2 separate regions of the Homo sapiens genome follow, and region 2 is linked to region 1. Evidence: promoter capture Hi-C in 16 types of primary human blood cells and fetal thymus (Javierre and others, 2016). All regions are on one chromosome and are shown on one strand. Each heading gives the region's core, a stretch centred on a gene start or on the middle of the fragment in contact. The rest is flanking DNA. Distances are from core to core; before and after follow the strand shown. Region 1 holds the start of AGPAT5 (1-acylglycerol-3-phosphate O-acyltransferase 5). Region 2 holds the start of PLEKHA2 (pleckstrin homology domain containing A2).

What was found. Contacts are between HindIII fragments. The CHiCAGO score rates a contact against its expected background, and 5 or more counts as called.
Region 2: a contact is called between the fragment with the promoter of PLEKHA2 here and the fragment with the promoter of AGPAT5 in region 1, in 1 of 17 cell types (non-activated CD4 T cells). The highest score is 5.5, in non-activated CD4 T cells.

The regions. Positions count from the first base shown.
Region 1 is chr8:6,705,924-6,710,080 of GRCh38, reverse strand. AGPAT5 (1-acylglycerol-3-phosphate O-acyltransferase 5) reads right to left here and starts at 1,439. Exons shown (of 8, transcript NM_018361.5): 1 at 1,194-1,439. The coding sequence starts at 1,412. It overlaps MCPH1-AS1 (MCPH1 antisense RNA 1), which reads left to right and starts at 1,872. Exons shown (of 5, transcript NR_125386.1): 1 at 1,872-1,940. RefSeq lists silencers at 1,046-1,285, 1,346-1,685. The HindIII fragment of the contact is 5,238 bases long and covers 1-3,814 here.
Region 2 is chr8:38,898,568-38,902,832 of GRCh38, reverse strand. PLEKHA2 (pleckstrin homology domain containing A2) reads right to left here and starts at 1,487. Exons shown (of 12, transcript NM_021623.2): 1 at 1,388-1,487. It overlaps LOC124901937 (a long non-coding RNA gene), which reads left to right and starts at 1,388. Exons shown (of 2, transcript XR_007060893.1): 1 at 1,388-1,620; 2 at 2,137-3,583. RefSeq lists silencers at 816-1,485, 1,566-1,975 and enhancers at 2,576-2,825, 2,886-3,075. The HindIII fragment of the contact is 6,068 bases long and covers 1-4,265 here.

The sequences.
Region 1 (4,157 bases), core at 190-2,689:
GTTGTCACATGATGTGGAAGTAAAAACTTAATCATGATAAAAATCATACATTTAGACAAACTTGGTGGAGTTACCATATAAAGGGAAAAAATTAGCCTGAATTATTGAAATTTTTAAATGAGGCCCATTTTAAACGTCAACTACCAGGAAACCATGACCTGGAACAGTATCTTTTTTTCTTTCCAAGGAGACACTTACAGACACTGGTTTAAATGGAGGCCCTGGCCTCTCCTAGTTCCTTCCCCCCAAACAACTTCCAACTGGGGCCATCAAGGGTCGATCAGCAGTGCAACTGCAAACTAAATATAGTACCTGACTGACCACAGGGTAAAAACAGCTGCTGTAGGTGGAAAAAAAAAAAGTTAAAAAGACAAAATGATACCGTCCCATTTCCCCATGCCACCCTAACCCTACCAAGAAAAGTAAAAGAGGACTAGGTGGACATTAGGAATAACCAAGAATAAAGCTGTTCTTTCAAACTGAGAAATAAAAGAAAAATTCACCTTTTTTTTTTTTTTATAACACTTCAAATACCTACTGTTAAAGAGGGCCTTCCACTTTTATGGTTTGTTTCTCAAGTTTAATCTACGAATCCAATCTCTACAGAGAAACAGTAACAGAAAGAAAGTAATCAGACAACAGATCACCCACACATTCAAGCCCAGTTAAAGTTGGCAAGAAATGTATCTAGTTAGGCTTCTACGGTTAACAAATGTATTCATTTCTTCGCCCAGCTTTCACTTGTCCAGGGGAAAGAACACAAGACCGAATTGTACTTCTGTTTCAAGAGGTCACTGTAAAAGCGCACTTCGGAGTGTAGACGTCTCCGATCTGTTCCAACATGACCACCTCTTTGGACCAAAGGCCAGAAACTGCTAAACGCGTGCCCTATTATTTAAAACGTGCATCTGCACCCACTTTGCTAAGCAGCATCAGACCCAGGCGAGGGGCGGGGAAAGGGGCGGCGGGTCCCACTCGTAGCCTCAGGACGACGCAGCCACAGCTTCCTAGAGAGCGATCTCGGCAGAACGGCAGGAAGCATGCGGAGAGGAAGGCGGGGAGGCGGCACGTGCTCTCCGTGCTGGGTCCGCCGGGCCGGCCGGGTGACCCTCGCCAGCTGTGGGGGAGCGGAGAGGTCCGCGCCCCCGGGAGCTCGGGTGGACGCCGAGACCCGGGAGCGGGAGGCGGCTCACCTGGACCCCGGTGTAATTCTCGAAGAAGAAGAGCACCATGCTCTGGTAGACGCAGTAGAGCCGGTCGTCCAGCGCTTGGTAGAAGCGGGCGGGCAGGAAGGCGGAGAGCAGCCGCCAGACCCCCCAGGCCAACACGTAGGTGGGCGCCGTGCCCAGGAGCACGACGCTGGGCAGCAGGTAGCGCATGGAGTACGTGTGGAGCACCAGGGACAGCAGCATCTTCTCAGCTCGGCGGCAGCGAGCTCCGCCTGCGCTCCCCGCCCGCCTCCCGGGCCTCAGTCGCGGCCAGCAGGCGGCCAATCACCGCCCGGGCCCGGGCCGCCGCGCCCGCCACCCGCTCCCAGCCTCCGCCCCCAGCCGCATGGGCCGCGCCGCCGCCCGGGGCCGGGTAGGCGAGTGCGGGGCTGCGTGCGCCGCTCCCGGCGGCAAAGCAAGGGAACCCGCGGCCCTCCCGGATCGATGGCTCAGGGATGCTCACACCCCATGACCCTCACCCATCGCCACATCCCCCTGCCGGGGCAGGGGGCTCCGCGGCAACAACGCGCCTTCTGATTGGTCGCCCGTTGCCATAGTTCCACCTCGGCGGCAATAACACGTCTCTTGATTGGTTGGTTTGGGCCGACAGTTGCAGTACAGCTACCTGCTGGGGCGCGGGCAACCCGGCTCCGGCCACTGCGCATGCTCCCCAGCTGGGCCGGCTGCGGACGCGGGAAGGGAGGTGGTGGCGACTGACGGAACTGGGTGAAGGTGGGTGCTGGCCGGAGGAGGGTCCGGGTGCCTCTTGTTCTGCTCCCTCGGGCCGGACGTGCGCGCGGTCAGGTTTAAGGGTCGCTGGAGCTGCCTGGAACGCGCACCTGCTGCTCACAAGCCCCTGGGCGCCGGGATGCACACAATTAGAGCAGTGAGAAAGTGGGTGTTAACGTTATCGGAGGTCTAATTCTTGCAGGCACCTGGGCCCAGGTTGTAGGCAGCTCGGCCCAGGTCGCGGGGCAGCTCGAGTGTCCCCATCTGCTCACTGCCAGTCCTTTGCAAGGGGACGCCGCCTCCTCAGCCTCCGCTCTGAGTGCGCAGCAGCCCCTCCTGCCCGTCTCTCGCTACCAGGGTGTTTCAGAATTAGGGTCCGTGTTTTTCCCCATCACAGTAATGATGATAATTACATGTTTATGCATAGCTGAAGAACAATCCCACAAGGATATTTCCATACTGTTTATTAGACCTTTTCAGAATTCACTCTTGCTTCATTTCCTCAGAGTCTGTTGGACTTGTTTCTGATTTTTTTTTAATAAGGAGCCTCGTTTTTTTCTGTAGTAATTAAAGTAGTTGCGTGCACATGTGTAATCCATAAAAAGCATACTTTTGTAGCCTTCACTAAAAGCTACGAAGGGTGGATAACTGTTTTATTGATGTTAAAGCAGATCCACAGGACTTTTGGATCTTTCTCCTCCCCTTTGGCTGTGGTAAAAATGGTTTAATATGTAACCCTTTTCAAGGATAGTTGTACTTTAAAAGAATGCCGAATGCTTTACCATATATATATATATATATATATATATATATATATATATATTCCCGCCCCCTCCCCACCACCACCATAATGGGAGCCTGTGCTACCTTTAGGCAGGACGGTATTTCAGTGGGAAGTTCTAATCAGGGCCAGGATGGTAGCTACTTTCTTTATACATGATTAACATCAAATAACAACATCATTGGTAGATGATGACCTTTGGGGACAAAGCCAGGTGAATGGAGATCTCTCAAGTAACAAGTATTTGAAGGCCAGCAGGAAGCATTACACAGTAAAAGGAGCTTCTCTCTTTCTGTGGCTGTCATTGTCCTGTACTGTAAGAAGCACTAGGTTTAGTACTGGTGGAAAAAAGTCACAGGTGTGGACAGTGTGCACAACTAATGCTCCTTATGCTTTCTTTAACTGAGACCAGACATCTCTACACTAGAACAGTGTGCGAAAAGATAAAGCAGGTTCTGTGTTCACGTTAGGATTGCTGTGTATAAAGTCAGTAAATATGTGTTTATGTGTAAATTTGTTGTGAATCACCCCAGATTACTGTTAGTCACGAAGTTGTAAACTTTTGTGCAATGTTTGCCATGAAAACACAGAACTTAACTTTCTCTTGTTCCCTCTTTATCTCCAAACCCAGCTCCTGACTATCAGTTATTGTCTGTCCTGCTCCCGCTCCTCTCTTCCTGCGAACAGTCACAGATCCACCCTCTCTTTCTGCCACTACCCGGCCCTGTTTTTCTGTTTTTTTTTTTTTCCCTTTTTCCGTGCAAACCTCTTAGTTGATAATCAGCCCACACCCTCTGCCTCCTTACCTTGTACTTTTGTTGAGCCCTTGCAGTCTGATGACCTTTTCCTCCCCTTTACTGGAATGGTGCTTCTTTCAGAGCACAGCTGATTTCCTCCTTTGCATACCCTGCTGGGCACCAGTGGAACAGTGAAAGGTGAATTCTGTCTATGCCTTCCTTGTACAACATTTAACAAGGAGTTACCTGTGGGATGAAAAGGGGACATTCTTGGTTCTCTGGGAGCATATATCAAGGCAATCTAATTTAGTCTGGAGACAAGGAAGACTTCTCAGTGAAATGGTATTTCAGGTGAAGCTTGAGGGACTTAGTGGGCTTTCCATGGGAGAATGGCACATTTGAACGCCTGAAGCTGAGAAATCACCATATTCTCATGCATAGCACTGGAGTGGGCCACAGTGTTCTTTTTAAAATTTGTTGAGATGCCCCTTGAAAGAATGCTGTGTATTCCCATCACACATTCTTAAACTGATATTTAAATGTTTTTCTCAGCTGGGCATGGTGGCCTATACCTGTAATTCCAGCACTTCAGGAGGCCAAGGAGGAAGGATCACTTAAGCGCTTTGTAGAGTGAGGCCTCCATCTCTACAAATATATTTTTTTAATTAGCTGGGTGTGATTGTGCATGCCTGTAGCCCCAGC
Region 2 (4,265 bases), core at 238-2,737, about 32 Mb before region 1:
TCCAGCCCTCCAGAGGTAAAGGAAAAAGAAAAAATAAAGACAGGGGTTGTGTTTTGTTCATCACTGCCTTGCATGTATAATACATGTCAACTGAATGCAACTGAAATAGAAAGCAAAAACTTCTATTCTTTCAAGATCTTTTGCTTTGCTGTTTCGGAAGGCTTCGCAACCAAAGAAAAAAAATGACAAAAGAAGGGAAAATGGGACTTGGTCAGATAGATTAAGAACACCATTAGTGCAATCTTGGGACTTCAGCCCCAAGTGCATCTACAGCTCAGCCTTCAGAGCCCCCAGAGCCACAGCTGGCTTTCTGGTGGGGTGCTCTCCCCTCCCTCTTCTCTGCCGTTTACTGTCCTCTGAAAACCCCACTTGGAGCCCTAAAGAAAGAAAGGGGGCGGGCAGGAAGAAGGAATGAGAAGGGGAAGATACATCCTGAACCTGCGTTCACCAAGAAGGAAGGAAGCCAAACCCTAAGGCTAGGGCCTGGGGGCAGGGCTGGCCCCGGGGAGGAGATGTGAGGGTGCTCCGGCCGCAGCGGGCCCTGCGCCCCTCTCTGGGCGTGCAGGGACACTTTTCCCTTCTAAACGGCCTAGCTTCCCACCACCCCCCCCCACACCCTTCTTTTCTCTTTCTTTTTAAAAAAATTTTGGTGAAATCGTCTTTAGGACTGGAGGAGAAAAGGGAAGCGTGTAAGGTGAGGAAGAAGTTGGTGAGAGAGAGAACGACAGCTCCCCTCGAGGGCTCACCCAACCTGGCACCGAACCTGCATTTTAGGGCAGTCCTTTTCACTGTCTGGAGTTCCAGAAGCCCGAAGTCCAGGCTGCACCCAGAGGAAAGGACAGGAGTCCCTAGGGGAGCCTTCTAGGCCTGTCATTTAATAAGGTAGTCGGGGGAGTGAAAGAGGAGTCTCCATGGCCCAATCCGTACCCAAGGGACTTGCCTGGGGACGTTCTCTGCTCTCCTCCCCTCCCGCAGCCCGGGCAGTCGTTGCGGGGTCGGTGCCCCAGCGCCAGAACCCGCAGAGAAGTTTCGCTGCTGCAAACGTGAGAAAATGCAGCTCAGCAGAACTCCCGCCCCCACCCTCTCCGCGGCCCCACCCCCCGCAGCCCGACCCCTGGCGGCGGCGACCTTGGCCACCCGGGGCACTTGGAGGAGGGGCTGCCCTCGGGGCTCTCCCAGAGGGTTGGAGGAGGCCTCCAGGGTCTGCGGCCACCTCCCCTCGCCTGTCAGCCACTAGGACCGGCGTATTCAGCCCTGCGCGCGCGCCCCTCGCGCCCCTAGGCCGCCAGGCCTCCGCCGGGGCGCCCCCTGCACCCCCAGCCCCGCCAGCCCCCGCGCGCCCCTCTGCGCCTCTCCACTCCCGAGCCCGCGAGGGCGCCCAACTTACCCCCCCGTGCAGGGGCCGGGGCTCGGGCGGGGCGCGTTACATCGGGCGGGGTCGCCCCTCCGGCCGCCGGGTCCGCCGCGCTCCAGGGATTTCTGGGTCTGCCTGCCAAACTCTCCGCGCCTCTCGCTCCCCTCGCTCTGGTCTCCCCCAGTGCCCCCTCCTTCTCTCCCGTCCCTCGGCTCTTTTTTCCGGGTTAATTACGTTTCGCATTAAAGCAAAACCCAGCCCCGGATGTGAGTACAATGCTCCGCGGAGCCCGCCGGGGAGGGAGAGGGGTGCCGGGGCGCCGCGGGCTGGGAGGGGGTGCGGCCGGGCGCCGGGGCCGCGCGGGGGAGGCGGGGGCGGGGCGCCCGGAGGCTGCGCCCGAGGCCGCCCGCGTTCCGCGCCTGGCAGGTGGGACCTGCGCGCCGAGACTGCCCCGCGGGGAGGCCCGGCCCCGACGCTCGCTCGGGCAGCAGGTGTCCGGGCAGGGGGCGTCCTCGCAGGAGGAGGCGAGCTGGAGCGCGAGCTCCCTCAAGAACCCCATTTCCTCCTCCCAGAGCCCCACCCAGCGACCTCAGCTGGGCCTCCTTCGGATCCCGAGCCCTTAGCCTTTGGGGACCGAGGAGTTGGGGTAAGGGTTAGGGTCCCAAGAAGAGTGGCTTCTTCAGGTTGTCCTAAATGTGCCCTAAGAGACCAGTGGGCGGGAACGCTCTAACCAGGGTTATAAGGACTTTAATTTCTTTATTTTATTTTATTTTTTAATCAAGACAGGGTCTGGCTCTGTCGCCCAGGCTGGAGTGCGGTGGCGCAGTCATAGCTCACTGCAGCCTCGACCTCCTGGGTCCAGCGATCCTTCTGCCCCAGCCTCCCGAGTAGCTGGGACCACAGGCGCCTACACCGTGCCCGTTGGGACTTTTTCGGTGTGATGCGAAGACTCCCTTCCTGCCCCCAGAGCATGAGGGTGCTCTGGGAAAAAATGGGAAACAGACAAGCATGTGTTACTACGTAAACCTCGCCAAGAGGAACTAAGAGAGCTGCTGTGCGCGGGTCCCGCCCCTGCGCTATCTCATTTGATCCACGCCGCAACCTATGGGTACCAGTCCGGTTCACGGTGAGGAAACCGAGACTCAGACTTGTGAAGTAATTTGCCCTGGGTACCCAGTTAGTAAACGGCAGGTCTGTCAGGTTCTGACTCCGGCCTCCCACGTCGGGAGAGAGACATTTGAATATGCATCAAGTCAGGTGGACAACATCCGAAACATGAAAATGTAGAAGATTCGCGCGGGCCTGCGGGGCCGTGCGCCGGTGTCTGGCGATCCTAATGCAAACGTTGTTAATCAGGTGTAAATCCTACGAGGCTTTGAAAGAGGCAGGCATAAGAAGACGCTGAGGTTCTCCAGGACAAGGACTGGATTTGCAGGAAGGAGGGAGAGGCTGGGGCACATTCCCGGTGTTAACAGAGGAAAGGCGGCCTCTTATGTCTCCACGACCGACCGGAGGCCACAAGGCCTGGGGAGGGGGGCTCGGGCCGATGAGCCAGGACCGAGGGAGAAGGACAGCCCGCCCCACACACCCCGAAAGCACCAGTGATGAAACCACACAAGTTTCCTCTTCCATTTTGATTGCCAAAGCAAAAATGAACACCGCCGGTGTCTCAGGTGTGAAAAAAGACTGTTTGCTTTAGAGCATTTTGCTTTCAATGAGGAAGAAAAGGGGGACGATGGGCAAAACACACACACACACACACACACACACACACACACACACACACACACACATTTCCCTTGAAATAAATACATCAATGTCTTTTTTTTCCCCGTTCATGGAGGGTTTTGCCACTCATCTGTAAGTTTCAGGCACCAGAACAAACTGAAGAGCATCTCCTCTGGAAGCAAGGAACCTGGATTTGAAGCCCAGCTCTGCCGTTTACTGGCTTTGACCCCTGGGCAAGTTACTTAACTTCTCAATGCCTCTGTTAGGAAAAGTCAGTGAGTTAACATTTGTGAAGTGTTGAGATTCCTGTCGAACGTGAAGTAGGTGCTACGTAAATGTTTTTTAAATTTAAAAATTAGATGATCATTTTCAGTATGAAAAGCAACACAATTCCATCCAGCTCCAAGCAAATCCGACTGGAACTGAGGGTTTCCAGCATGAGCAATGAGGTAAATTTCTCAGATTTCAGGGTATGGTTCATATTAAACTCATAAAACTCTACTCCCCGTGGGGCTGCCTGAGTCACTCCATCACAGAGCCACAAGTATTTCCTGAGCACTACTGTTTTGGATGCTGGGAGGCAAAGAGAAGCAGAAGGCCTTGGGTGGCAAGAGAATACAGGTGTCTCTAGAAGGCTGAAGCAGGCTTGTGCCCTGGGAATGGCACAGAGAGTAAGTGCTGTCAACTTTTAGAAGGACAAGATATAGCCAGGGGCAGTGGCTCACGACCTGTAATCCCAGCACTTTGGAAAACCAAGGCAGGAGGATCCCTTGAGTCCAGGAGTTCAAGACCAGCCTGGACAACTAGGGAAACTTCATCTCTACAAAAAATAAAAAATATTAAATTAGCCAGGTATGCACCTGTGGTCCCAGCTACTCTAAAGGTTGAAATGGGAGGGTCACTTGAACCCAGGATTTTGAGGCTGCAGTGAGCCATTATCATGCCACTGCATTCCAACCTGAGTGACAGAGTGAGAACCTGTCTCAGAAAAAAAATAAATAAAAAAGAGGGAAATGTGTCTCTGAATGGGGGATGGGGGGTGGGGGGGGACGGTGGGGGAGCTCAAGAAGGGAGTGGGCTTTGAAATGGGACTTAGATGGATACAGTTTGACACCAGTGGGAGGAGGCCAGGAACATGTTGGGCTGAGGGAAGGTCATCATCAGTGCACTCGGGGAGATGCTC